4 separate regions of the Homo sapiens genome follow, and regions 1, 2 and 4 are each linked to region 3. Evidence: promoter capture Hi-C in 16 types of primary human blood cells and fetal thymus (Javierre and others, 2016). All regions are on one chromosome and are shown on one strand. The core of a region is centred on a gene start or on the middle of the fragment in contact, and the rest is flanking DNA. Distances in the headings are between cores, read along the strand shown.

Region 1 (2,700 bases), core at 146-2,645, 260 kb after region 3:
AAGTGCTGGCCCGTGAGCCTGTGAGCCACTGCGCCTGGCTACCTTCTTTTGAATTCCCATTCAGACTGTGTGTTGCTGGTACATAGAAAAACAATGGATTTCTATGTATCAAGTAACCTTGTAAACTCTCATATTAAGTCTAATAATTATGTTTGGGTTCTCTTTGTGGATTCTTTTTGATTTTCTGCGTACACAATCCTATCATCTGCAAGTAATGACCATTTTGTTTCTTCTATTCCAGTCTTTTTAGCTTTGATTTCTTTTTTTGAGGCAGAGTCTGGCTCTGTCACCCAGGCTGGAGTATAGTGGCACAATCTTGGCTCACTGCAACCTCCGCCTCCCTGGTTCAAGCAGTTCTCCTGCCTCAGCCTCCCAAGAAGCTGGGACTACAGGCACCCACCACCACGCCTGACTAATTTTTGTATCTTTACCAGACACAGGGTTTCACCATGTTGGCCAGGCTGATCTGGAACTCCTGATCCACCTGCCTTGGCCTCCCAAAGTGCTAGGATTACAGGCGTGAGCCACTGTGCCCGGCTGATTTCGTTTCCTTGCTTTACTTCCCTGGACTTGCTTTCTCTTGCTTTTACTTCCTTTGAATGAAAGCATAGGAGGCGCTGGGCATGGTGGCTCACGCCTGTAATCCCAGCACTTTGGGAGGCCGAGGTGGGTGGATCACCTGAGGTCAGGAGTTCGAGACCAGCCTGACCAACATGGAGAAACTCTGTCTCTACTAAAAATACAAAAAAATTAGCCGAGCATGGTGGCCCATGCTTGTAATCCCAGCTACTTGGGAGGCTGAGGCAGGAGACTCGCTTGAACCCAGGAGGCCGAGGTTGCGGTGAGCCAAGATCGAGCCATTGCACTCCAGCCTGGGCAACAAAAGCGAAACTCTGTCTCAAAAAAAAAAAAAAAAAAAAAAAAAAAGCATAGGAGGCATTCTCAGTGTTCCATTATTAAGTATGATGTTTGCAGGGAGCATTCGGTAGATATGTTTATCAGATTTAGAAAGCTCCCTCCCATTCCTAGTGTGCTATATGTTGAATTTTTATAAAATGCTTTTTCTGAATGCATTAATATGATCACAGGGTTTTCCTCCTCTAATCTGTTAATGTGGCAAATTACATTAATTCATTTTTAAATGTTAAACCACTCTTGTATTTTCTGGACTAAACTCAACTTTGCGTGATGTATTTTTTTCATATACAATTCTGGATTGGGTGGTTTTTTTTTTTTTTTTTAGCCTCGTATTATTATCCTCGTCTGGTTTTGGTATCAAGACATCGTAAAGTGAGTTGAGGCAGTATTTCCTTTTTCAGCTGTTCACTGGAACAGTTAGTCTAAGATGGAGATGATCAGTTACTTCCATGTTTGCTGGAGATCATCTGTAAAACCATCTAGGCCTTCCTTGTTTTTTATTTTCTGTTTTTTGTTTTGTTTCTTTTCTTTTCTCTTCTTTGTTTTTTTTGTTTTGTTTTGTTTTGTTTTGTTGTTGTTTTGAGACAGAGTCTCACTCTGTTGCCCAGGCTGGAGTGCAGTGGTACAGTCTTGGCTTACTGCAACCTCTGCCTCCTGGGTGCAAGCGATTCTCCTGCCTCAGCCTCCCGAGTAGCTGGGACTGCAGGCATGCACCACCACGTCCAGCTAAGTTTTGTATTTTTAGTAGAGACGGTGTTTCGCCATGTTGGCCAGTCTGGTCTTGAACTCCTGACCTCAGGTGATCTGCCTGCCTCGGCCTCACAAAGTGCTGGGATTACAGGCATGAGCCACCGCATCTGGCCTGGCCTTCCTTGTTTTTGTAGCTTCCTGCCTGTCCCCCTATAGATTTTAAACAATGAATCCAACTTCTGTAATAATTATGGGACCATTTAGGTTTTCTGTTTCTTCTTGAGTAATTTTTTTATTGTGGGAAAAAATACATAACACAAAATTTGCCATCTTTTTTTTTTTTTTTTTTGAGACAGGTCTTGCTCTGTTGCCCAGGCTGGGGTGCAGTGGCATAATCATTGTAACCTCAAACTCCTGGTCTCAAGCAATTCTCCTGCCTCAGCCTCCTGGGTAGCTGGGACTATAGGCATTCACCACCATGCCCAGCTAATTTTTAATTTAATTTTTTTTTTTGAGACAGATCTCACTTTGTCACCCAGGCTGGAGTACAGTGGCGTGATCTCAGCTCACTGCAACCTCTGCCTCCCGGGTTCAAGCAATTTTTGTGCTTCAGCCTCAAATTTTTAATGTTTTTGGTAGAGATGGGATCTTGTTACTTTGCCCAGGCTGGTCTCCCATTCCCAGACTCAATCAATCCTCCTACCTTGGCTTCCCAAAGCACTGGGATTACAGGTGTGAGCCACCATGCCCAGCCTCCAACTTTATTCTTTTGCATGTGGATATCAAGTTTCCCCTATACCATTTGTTGAAAAGACTGCCCTTTTCCCAATTTGTAGCCTTGATACCCTTGTCAAAAATCATCTGACCATATACTTGAGAGTTTCTTTCTGGGCTCTGGATTATATTCTGTCTCTGTCTTTATGCCAGGACCACACTGTAATATGTTTTATTTTGTAAATCAGGAAGTGTGAGTCCTCGAACTTTGTTCTCCTTTTTCAGAATTGTTTTGGTTATTTGGAGCCCCTTGAGATTCTATCTGAATTTAGGATGAATCATTCTATTTTGAGTCAATTTTTGATAAACAATATTTTT
Region 2 (2,700 bases), core at 66-2,565, 280 kb before region 3:
AGCTAGGACTCGGTAGTGACAAATGCATAACTATTTGCTTATTTTCAGTGCCTTTTGCTTCAAGTGAGAGGTTTCTGCTCTCCCATGGTGAAGTGTGAGGCATAAATCCTGCTTCATTATGGGGGACTTCCAGGGGGGTGGCACGCAGCCCAGGAGTCCCCCTGGCATGATGAGGGGGAAGTTGGGAAAGAGAAGCAGAAAAGAAAATGGAAGGGGGCCAAACGCAGGAGGTGTGAGGAGGAAAGCCAAGGAAGACGAGGGAAGAGGGAATGATAAAAAGGAGGGAGAGGCCAGGCGTGGGGGCTCACACCTGTAATCCCGGCTCTTCTGGAGGATGATGCAGGAGGATTGCTTGAGCCCAGGAGTTTGAGACCAGCATGGGCAACATGGTGAAACCTCGTCTTTCCAAAAAAAAAAAAAAAAAAAAAAAAAAAAAAAATTAGCTGGGCAGGGTGGCATGCACCTGCAGTTCAAGCTACTTGGGAGGCTGAGGTGGGAGGGTTGCTTAAGCCCAGGAGGTCAAGGCTGTAGTGAGCCATGATCACGCCACTGCACCTCTAGGCTGAGCAACAGAGTGAAACCCTGCCTCAAAATAAATAAATAAATAAATAAATAAATAAATAAATAAATAAATAAATAAAAATTTTAAAAAATGGGGAATGAGAGGTAGGGTCTAATAAGTAGAAGGCAAGGTAGGAGGCTGGCGCAGGAAACGAGTCAGGGTGTTATTTTGTGCGCTAATGCAATGGGTTAACGCATTCGTTTCCTAAGCCTGCCAGGGTGAGTTGCCACAAACGTGATGGCTCAAAACAGAAATCCAGAATCCAGGTGGCAGCAGGGCCACGCTCTCTCCCTAGGTCCTAGGGGAGGATCGCCCTCGCCCCTGCCTCTCCAGCTACTGCTGGCCCTAGGTGTTCTTCGTCTTGCAGCTGGGTCACTCCCGTCCCTGCCTCTCTGCCTTCACAGGACCTTTTCTCCTGCGTTTCTCCACGGTGTCTGTGTGTCTCCAATCTCTCTTTTCTTTCTCTTATAAGGACACTAGTCACTGGATTTAGGGTCCACCCTAAGTCCAGGATGATCTTATCTCAAGATCCTTAACTTAATTTCACCTACAAAACCCTATTTCCAAATAAGATCACATTCACAGGTACGGGAGGCCATGGACTGAATGTGTCCCCCCAGAATTCCTATGCTGAAATCCTAATGCCAGTGTGACAGTATTTGGAGGCAGGGCCTTTGGGAGGTGATTACGCTGTGAGAGTGGAGCCCTCATGAATGGGATCAGCGCCTTTATGAGAAGAGGCTGGAGACCGACCATGTGAGGATACGGGGGGGAAGGTAGTGCTCTTGAGCCCAGTAGCAGGTCCTCGCCAGAACTGACCATGCTAGCACCTTGATCTTGGATTTGTAGCCTCCAGACAGTGAGAGACGAATATCTGCTGTTTAAGCCACCCAGTCTTGGCATTTCTTATAACAGCCCTAAGTGATAACTGATTTGGGTGCCCCTATTCAACCCTTGTTTTGACTTAGATGACATTCTCTACAGGGAAAATTTCTTAGGACTATTGGACAAAATGTAAAGTTCTCTTCTTGCTTTTTGCTTTGTTTTGCAAAAAAAAAAGAAAGAGGAATGGGTCAACCAGAACATCTGGAAAGTCTGGAGTATCACTGAGGAAACACAGGGCGATTGAGAACCCGAAAGTGAATGGAAACCTACGATAGAAGTGAGATATGCTTTTCTGTTGTCACCTCATCGGACTGTGTGTGATGACACAAATGCCAATAGCCGGCAAACAGCGAGGAAACCAACATGATCCTGACAGTTTCAGGAGTGCCCACGCTGAATGATTTTTAAGTTGACTATCTGCCTAAAATAAATAATTGTCTCATTTAAAAAAAAAAAAGAAAAAAGAAAATGGGGACTTAGGCCGGGCACAGTGGCTCATGCCTGTAATCCCAGCATCTTGGGAGGCCGAGGTGGGCGGATCACCTGAGGTCGGGAGTTCGAAACCAGCCTGACCAACATGGAGAAACCCCGTCTCTACTAAAAAAAAAAAAAAAAAGAAAGAAAATGGGGACTAAAACCTCTTGCTTTGCAAATGTCCTGTAAGTGGATGATTTAGATTTAAAAGCCACACAGATCCCTTGAGAAAATGCAGCCATCTGTTACTAATTTTGAAGGTGAAGGGAACAAAATGAACATGTACAAAAAATTCAGACATATATGGTTCTTAACTGCATCCACACTGTCCTCTTACTATCTAGCCCAGGCTCTGGAGCAAGATTTATTTATTTATTTTTTGAGACACAGTCTCACTCTGTTGCCCAGGCTGGAGTACAGTGGCACTCTCTCGGCTCACTGCAACCTCCACCTTCCGGGTTCAAGTGATTTTCCTGCCTCGGCCTCCCAAGTATCTGGGATTACAGAGGTGCACCACCACGCCCGGCTAATTTTTGCATTTTTAGTAGAGACAGGGTTTCACCATGTTGGCCAAGCTGGTCTCAAACTCCTGACCTCAGGTGATCCACCCCACCTCAGCCTCCCAAAGTGCTGGGATTACAGGCATGAGCCACCGCGCCTGGCCAACAAGATTTAAAAAAACATATTGCACTAAGTATTTTCTCTAACCACAATGGGATGAGGTTAGAAATCAATAATAGATGGAAAACTGGAAAATTCACAAATTTGTGAAAATTAAG
Region 3 (2,700 bases), core at 201-2,700:
CGGGAAGGGCCTGGCATGAGTCAGCCTGCAGCACAACCTCCCTGCTCCAGACCCGTATGGTAGGGGCACCCCCTAGGTCTGGATGTGCTGTGGTGCTTTTGGACACCCCCACCCCCGCAGGCTGTGGCTCCTCCTGTGTCTCATTCTGGCCAGGACCCTCACGTGCCCTCTGTTGACTGCTAACGTGGTTCTCTGACCAGGCAAGGGCAGGCTGAGGGGTTTGCCCAAAGGGGGCCCCCTTGTTACTGGCTTCCTTGGCTCTCAGGAGCAGCCTCACCAGGTTGGTAAGGGGCTGGAGGAGACAACTGCTCAAAGGAGTCCAGCTTCACATGCACATGCTAGAAGGTACCCTCGGAAGGCCTGGCCTTCAAAGGTAGATCCCAGGGTTGAAAAGTCAACTTGTATGCATTGAGCATCTCGTATGCCAGCCCTGTTCCGTGAGCTGATGGGCCTTTGTGTGTAAGTAGGACCAAGTGCCCCCGTGGAGGTTAGCATGGGTGTGCAGTCATTTCAGATACTTGAGTTGGTACATCTCAGTAAAGTCTGTCCCGTGAGAAGCCATGGGTTTCATGGTATGGTTGGCATCTTCCTTGGGAGTGGCCACAGTGGTGGTGGCTTCAGGAAAGAGACTCCAACAGGGGCCAGCTGTGGGCCTTGGGCACTTCTCGTTTCTAGGAAAAGTCCTAAGTCTGTAGGGCTAGGGGTGGGGAACCCCTTCGCTGTCAGGATCAAGAGGGCAAGGGGAACTGTCGCTGGAGGAGACATCCAGCTGGAGAAACAAAAGAGTAAGTCTGCGTTGCTGCTTGTGGGGTCTTCCCCATCTCAGGGCGGGGACCGGGGGTGGCGGTCCAGACAAGTAATCAAGGACGATGCCCAGGAGGGGACAGGTACGGGGTGGCAGGAGCTCTGCCGGCGGGCTCAGGAAGCCTTCACCACAGCTGCCTGAGCTCACCCTTGCCAAATGAGGGCTGGGGCAGCAGCAACGCATACACTCACGGCTGTGGCGGGCAGCGTTCTCGGCATATTTCAGGACACCTAAGGAGACTGAATGGCTCAAGGCTGCTGCCGTGTGCAGGGGGCTAGACGTGGGGCGGGCAGGCAGGGCTCCTGGTAACAGCCCTGCAGGCCGCAGTGGAGAGCAGGGTTCCGGCAGGGCCGCCCAGGAGCTTTCGGAAGGCCCGGCCCCGGCCCCTTTCCGAGCAGCCCGGGCCTCCGCCCTGCCCTCTGTCCCCAACGCCGGGAGCCGCCGTTCGTCCTCCAGAGCCCCGCCCGGGCGAGCCCGGGAGGCCGATCGCCGCTCGCGGAACCCGCCGGGACCCGGGCCCTCCCCGGCGCGGGGCGCCCCCGTGTGACCCAGCGCGCGGCCGCGGCGCGCAAGATGGCGGCGGGCCCGGGCACCGCCCCTTCCGCCCCGCCGGGCGTCGCACGAGGCCGGCTCGAAGGGGAAGTGAGTCAGTGTCCGCGGACCCGGCCGGCCCAGGCCCGCGCCCGCCGCGGCCCTGAGAGGCCCCGGCAGGTCCCGGCCCGGCGGCGGCAGCCATGGCCGGGGGGCCGGGCCCGGGGGAGCCCGCAGCCCCCGGCGCCCAGCACTTCTTGTACGAGGTGCCGCCCTGGGTCATGTGCCGCTTCTACAAAGTGATGGACGCCCTGGAGCCCGCCGACTGGTGCCAGTTCGGTGGGTGGCGGCGGGCTGCCGGGGGGCGGGAGGCGCGCGGGCTCCTGGCGCCGACGCCTGACGCCCCCCGCCCCGCAGCCGCCCTGATCGTGCGCGACCAGACCGAGCTGCGGCTGTGCGAGCGCTCCGGGCAGCGCACGGCCAGCGTCCTGTGGCCCTGGATCAACCGCAACGCCCGTGTGGCCGACCTCGTGCACATCCTCACGCACCTGCAGCTGCTCCGTGCGCGGGACATCATCACAGCCTGTGAGCGCGGGACTCCGGGCACCCCACGGCTGGGAGGCCGGCGGGCCCCACGGGGCTCCCCCACCCGGGCCTCAACCTTCCTTTCCTTCCTTGGCGTCCCAGGGCACCCTCCCGCCCCGCTTCCGTCCCCAGGCACCACTGCCCCGAGGCCCAGCAGCATCCCTGCACCCGCCGAGGCCGAGGCCTGGAGCCCCCGGAAGTTGCCATCCTCAGCCTCCACCTTCCTCTCCCCAGGTAAGAGGGCCCGGTTGTTAGGCTCGGTGGACCCAAAGAAGAGCCCACCTTGACCACGGCCACGGCTGTAGACCCTGCTGCTGGTCTCTGCCTGCCTCTCACTGGTGTCTTTATGAAGCTTTTCCAGGCTCCCAGACCCATTCAGGGCCTGAGCTCGGCCTGGTCCCAAGCCCTGCTTCCCTGTGGCCTCCACCGCCATCTCCAGCCCCTTCTTCTACCAAGGTAGGTGTCCCCTGCCCCCCAGGGAAGATTCGAGACAAGGAGGAAGGAATTCAGCCTTTGATGTAGCGCAGAGCCCCAGTCAGCCAAGCTGGGTCAGCTGGGAGGCAGCTGTGGTGGGGAGAGCCTGGAGCCTTGGGCAGAAGGGAAGAGACAGGGACCCCACCTGATCCAGGCTCTCTTCCCACAGCCAGGCCCAGAGAGCTCAGTGTCCCTCCTGCAGGGAGCCCGCCCCTTTCCGTTTTGCTGGCCCCTCTGTGAGATTTCCCGGGGCACCCACAACTTCTCGGAGGAGCTCAAGATCGGGGAGGGTGGCTTTGGGTGCG
Region 4 (2,700 bases), core at 6-2,505, 300 kb after region 3:
TGTTGGTCATCGGTGAGTGAGCTATGGCTGAGGGCAGCTACCTGACCTAGACCCTGGTCTCTGCTGCAAAACCCTTTGCCACTTTTGATGTGTAGCATCCAGTTTTGGCTGCTAGGAGACAGACCAATGAAATGCTGTGTCTTTCTCTTGAGGGAGGGAAGAGGCTCCCTTTGCCCATGCTGCTGACCGCTAGTCGGTTCTTCACTTTGAGGCCCCTCTAGGCCGTACATGGTGGCTCATGCCTGTAATCCCAGCACTTTGGGAGGCTGAGGTCGGTGGATCACCTGAGATGAGGAGTTCGAGATCAGCCTGGCCAACGTGGTGAAACCCCATCTCTACGAAAAATACAAAATTAGCTGGGCGTGGTGGCGGGCACCTGTAATCCCAGCTACTTGGGAGACTGAGGCAGGAGAATTGCTTGAACCCACGAGGCAGAGGTTGCAGTGAGCCTAAATCGCACCATTGCACTCCAGCCTGGGCAACAAGAGGGAGACTCCATCTCAAAAAAAAAAAAAAGAGGCCCCTCTAGCAGTGGGCGTGGGCTTATACCAAGCAGTTTGTATGCAGCTTATGACGGCCACCTTACATTGCTTTTTTTCAAGACCTTGGAAGGAGGGACGCCTAAGGTTTCTGAGGCTGCTCCTCAGGTCACTCTAGAACTGAAGCCAAGAGAAGCTAACTGGCCTGTGACCTTGGTCTGAGTAGTGCTGCTCACCAGTCACTTAAACAGCAGAATTGCCTGGAGCAGGGCCTCTAATGGGGGACTGAGCAACCAAGCACACAGTGAAGTCCTGCCATTCCCTGTAGTAGTAGGAGGAGAACACAGAGATGTGTGGCAGCATATCTTGGGGAGAGATCCTAGACCTCTCTGCATCTGGGCTAGACTTGAGGTTTTCCCAGGTCGTTCCAGCTCTGTAGTTCTGTAAACTCTGACATTGAGGTGTACACTAGCAGGTGCTTGAAAGATAAACTGGTCCAAGGGCAAGCAGGCTCTGGGATAAGGCCAGGCCAGGTGGTGGTAAGATGAAAGGCAGACATTTTGCAATGAGGTGGTAGGGTGACCATCTGGAGACAAGAATCAATAAAGCTCTTGTCTGACTGGTAGATGTTTGTTGTTTTGCTGTGGTAAGTGATCGATATGTCCCCCTGTTTGGGCTCCAAAGTATTGGCTTGGCTCTGCTGTGGACACCACTCTTGTCTCAGAGCTGTGGTGCCTGCCTAGGCGTGGAACACTCCTCCCACCGAGTCCCAGCAGAAACACTGAGCGGGTGGGGGGCTGTGGTTCAGGGGAATGTGCAAAGCCTCACCCACCAGCTTCAGCATTAGGCATTTCTCCTTCCTGATGTCTCAGAGCCTGATAGGATATGTTCAGGCTGGACTGCCTCTGAACAGGCCAAGTGTTACCTGACAGCTTCCAACCACATAGGGTAGGTGCCAGCTGCCTGAGCACCTCAGTGTTCTTGAAATACTTGGCAAGGCCCCAAGAGGTAGTAGCTCTTTCTAACCAGGGTTCTCGCCCTGAGCAGCCTCCAAGCCAGGAGTAGGTAGGTAATATATGTGTCATCCCCAGGCCACTGAGTTTTTGAACTGAGCATGTGTGTTTTGGCTTTTGGGTCTGGGGTGGGGGTAATAACTGGGGAGGGGAGGGACCATGCTGAGGATGATTCCCTCAGGGTCTTGCCCCTTCCCCAAACCAGAAGGAGTATGTTTCTTTCCTAGAGCAGCTGAGTGGGCTGGAGAGATCCTTTGCGGAATCCAGTAGTTGACAAAGCCTTCATTCTTTTTTGGGATCGGGGAACTGCTTGGAAGTTCTAGGGGGACATATGGCCATGATGACTGGCTGCTTCCTACTCCCATGTTAAGAAGCATAATCTAGAAAGATCTGCAGAGCCTTCTTCAAACAGAAGTGTTAGTCACAGGTACTAGTGAAGGGTAAGGGGCATAACTAGCTAGAGCTGTGGCCTTGCTTGGGGGTGGGGAGGGTTGAGCAGATCCTCCTGGAGGATGGAGTTGCTGAGGGTGCAGGATCTTCCCACCTGGGCTGAGGCCCGAGACAGGGAGGGCTGGTTTCTACTGTGGGACTTGGGTTAGTATTGCTCAGTCCCCCATCCCCACTATTGGTCATTGGCCAAGGTGGTCCTTAGGATGGTGGGGTTCCTGGATGCAGGTGACAGTGTAAGGAAACATGTTTATCTTGTTTTTCTGATTACAAAAATAATGGGTAATTATTCTTAAAAATTCAAAAGTTGAATTTAGAAAGTTAAACTCCCCATAATCCCATTTCCCACAGGTAACCATCATGAGTATTTTGTTGTGCATTTCCAGAGGGGTTTTGTATGCTGACATCTTTAATAAAATGTCTACAACGGTGGGATCATACACACAAAGTATTTATGTTTCTTTCCACATTCCTGCTGGGACATGGCAGGAGGAGCATTCCACGCCTGAGCTGGTAGCACAGCTCTGAGATAAGACTGCTGTCCATAGCAGAGCCTAGCCAATACTTTGGATTGTGCTTTTTCTACCTGCTGCACGTTAGACATCTTTTTTTTTTTTTTTTTTTTTTGAGATGGAATCTCACTTTGTTGCCCAGACTGCAGTGCAGTGGCGCCATCTTGGCTCACTGCAACCTCCGCCTCCCAGGTTCAAGCGATTTCCCCTGCCTCAGCTTCCGAGTAGCTGCAGGTTACAGGCGCCCGC

The links. Contacts are between HindIII fragments. The CHiCAGO score rates a contact against its expected background, and 5 or more counts as called.
Region 1: a contact is called between a fragment that was not itself captured here and the fragment with the promoter of IRAK1 in region 3, in 2 of 17 cell types (non-activated CD4 T cells and activated CD4 T cells). The highest score is 7.0, in non-activated CD4 T cells.
Region 2: a fragment that was not itself captured here is called in contact with the fragment with the promoter of IRAK1 in region 3 in 8 of 17 cell types (M0 macrophages, monocytes, total CD8 T cells and 5 more); the score reaches 9.4 in M0 macrophages.
Region 4: a contact is called between a fragment that was not itself captured here and the fragment with the promoter of IRAK1 in region 3, in 2 of 17 cell types (non-activated CD4 T cells and fetal thymus). The highest score is 6.1, in non-activated CD4 T cells.

The regions. Positions count from the first base shown.
Region 1 is chrX:153,758,717-153,761,416 of GRCh38, reverse strand. The region is part of intron 2 of PLXNB3-AS1 (PLXNB3 antisense RNA 1); the gene reads left to right. Among named protein-coding and RNA genes, the nearest start is that of PLXNB3, 4.2 kb to the left of the region's middle. The HindIII fragment of the contact is 6,541 bases long and covers 1-2,700 here.
Region 2 is chrX:154,301,119-154,303,818 of GRCh38, reverse strand. All of the region lies in intron 1 of TKTL1 (transketolase like 1), which reads right to left. Among named protein-coding and RNA genes, the nearest start is that of TKTL1, 6.7 kb to the right of the region's middle. The HindIII fragment of the contact is 3,860 bases long and covers 1-2,700 here.
Region 3 is chrX:154,018,652-154,021,351 of GRCh38, reverse strand. It overlaps IRAK1 (interleukin 1 receptor associated kinase 1), which reads left to right and starts at 1,450. Exons shown (of 14, transcript NM_001569.4): 1 at 1,450-1,675; 2 at 1,754-1,921; 3 at 2,024-2,155; 4 at 2,274-2,377; 5 at 2,565-2,700. The coding sequence starts at 1,540. It overlaps MIR718 (microRNA 718), which reads left to right and starts at 1,363; the gene lies at 1,363-1,432. RefSeq lists enhancers at 331-400, 516-1,485 and silencers at 1,171-1,550, 1,901-2,000, 2,011-2,080. The HindIII fragment of the contact is 4,941 bases long and covers 1-2,275 here.
Region 4 is chrX:153,718,184-153,720,883 of GRCh38, reverse strand. It overlaps BCAP31 (B cell receptor associated protein 31), which reads left to right. Exons shown (of 8, transcript NM_001256447.2): 3 at 1-12. Among named protein-coding and RNA genes, the nearest start is that of BCAP31, 4.9 kb to the left of the region's middle. The HindIII fragment of the contact is 5,559 bases long and covers 1-2,700 here.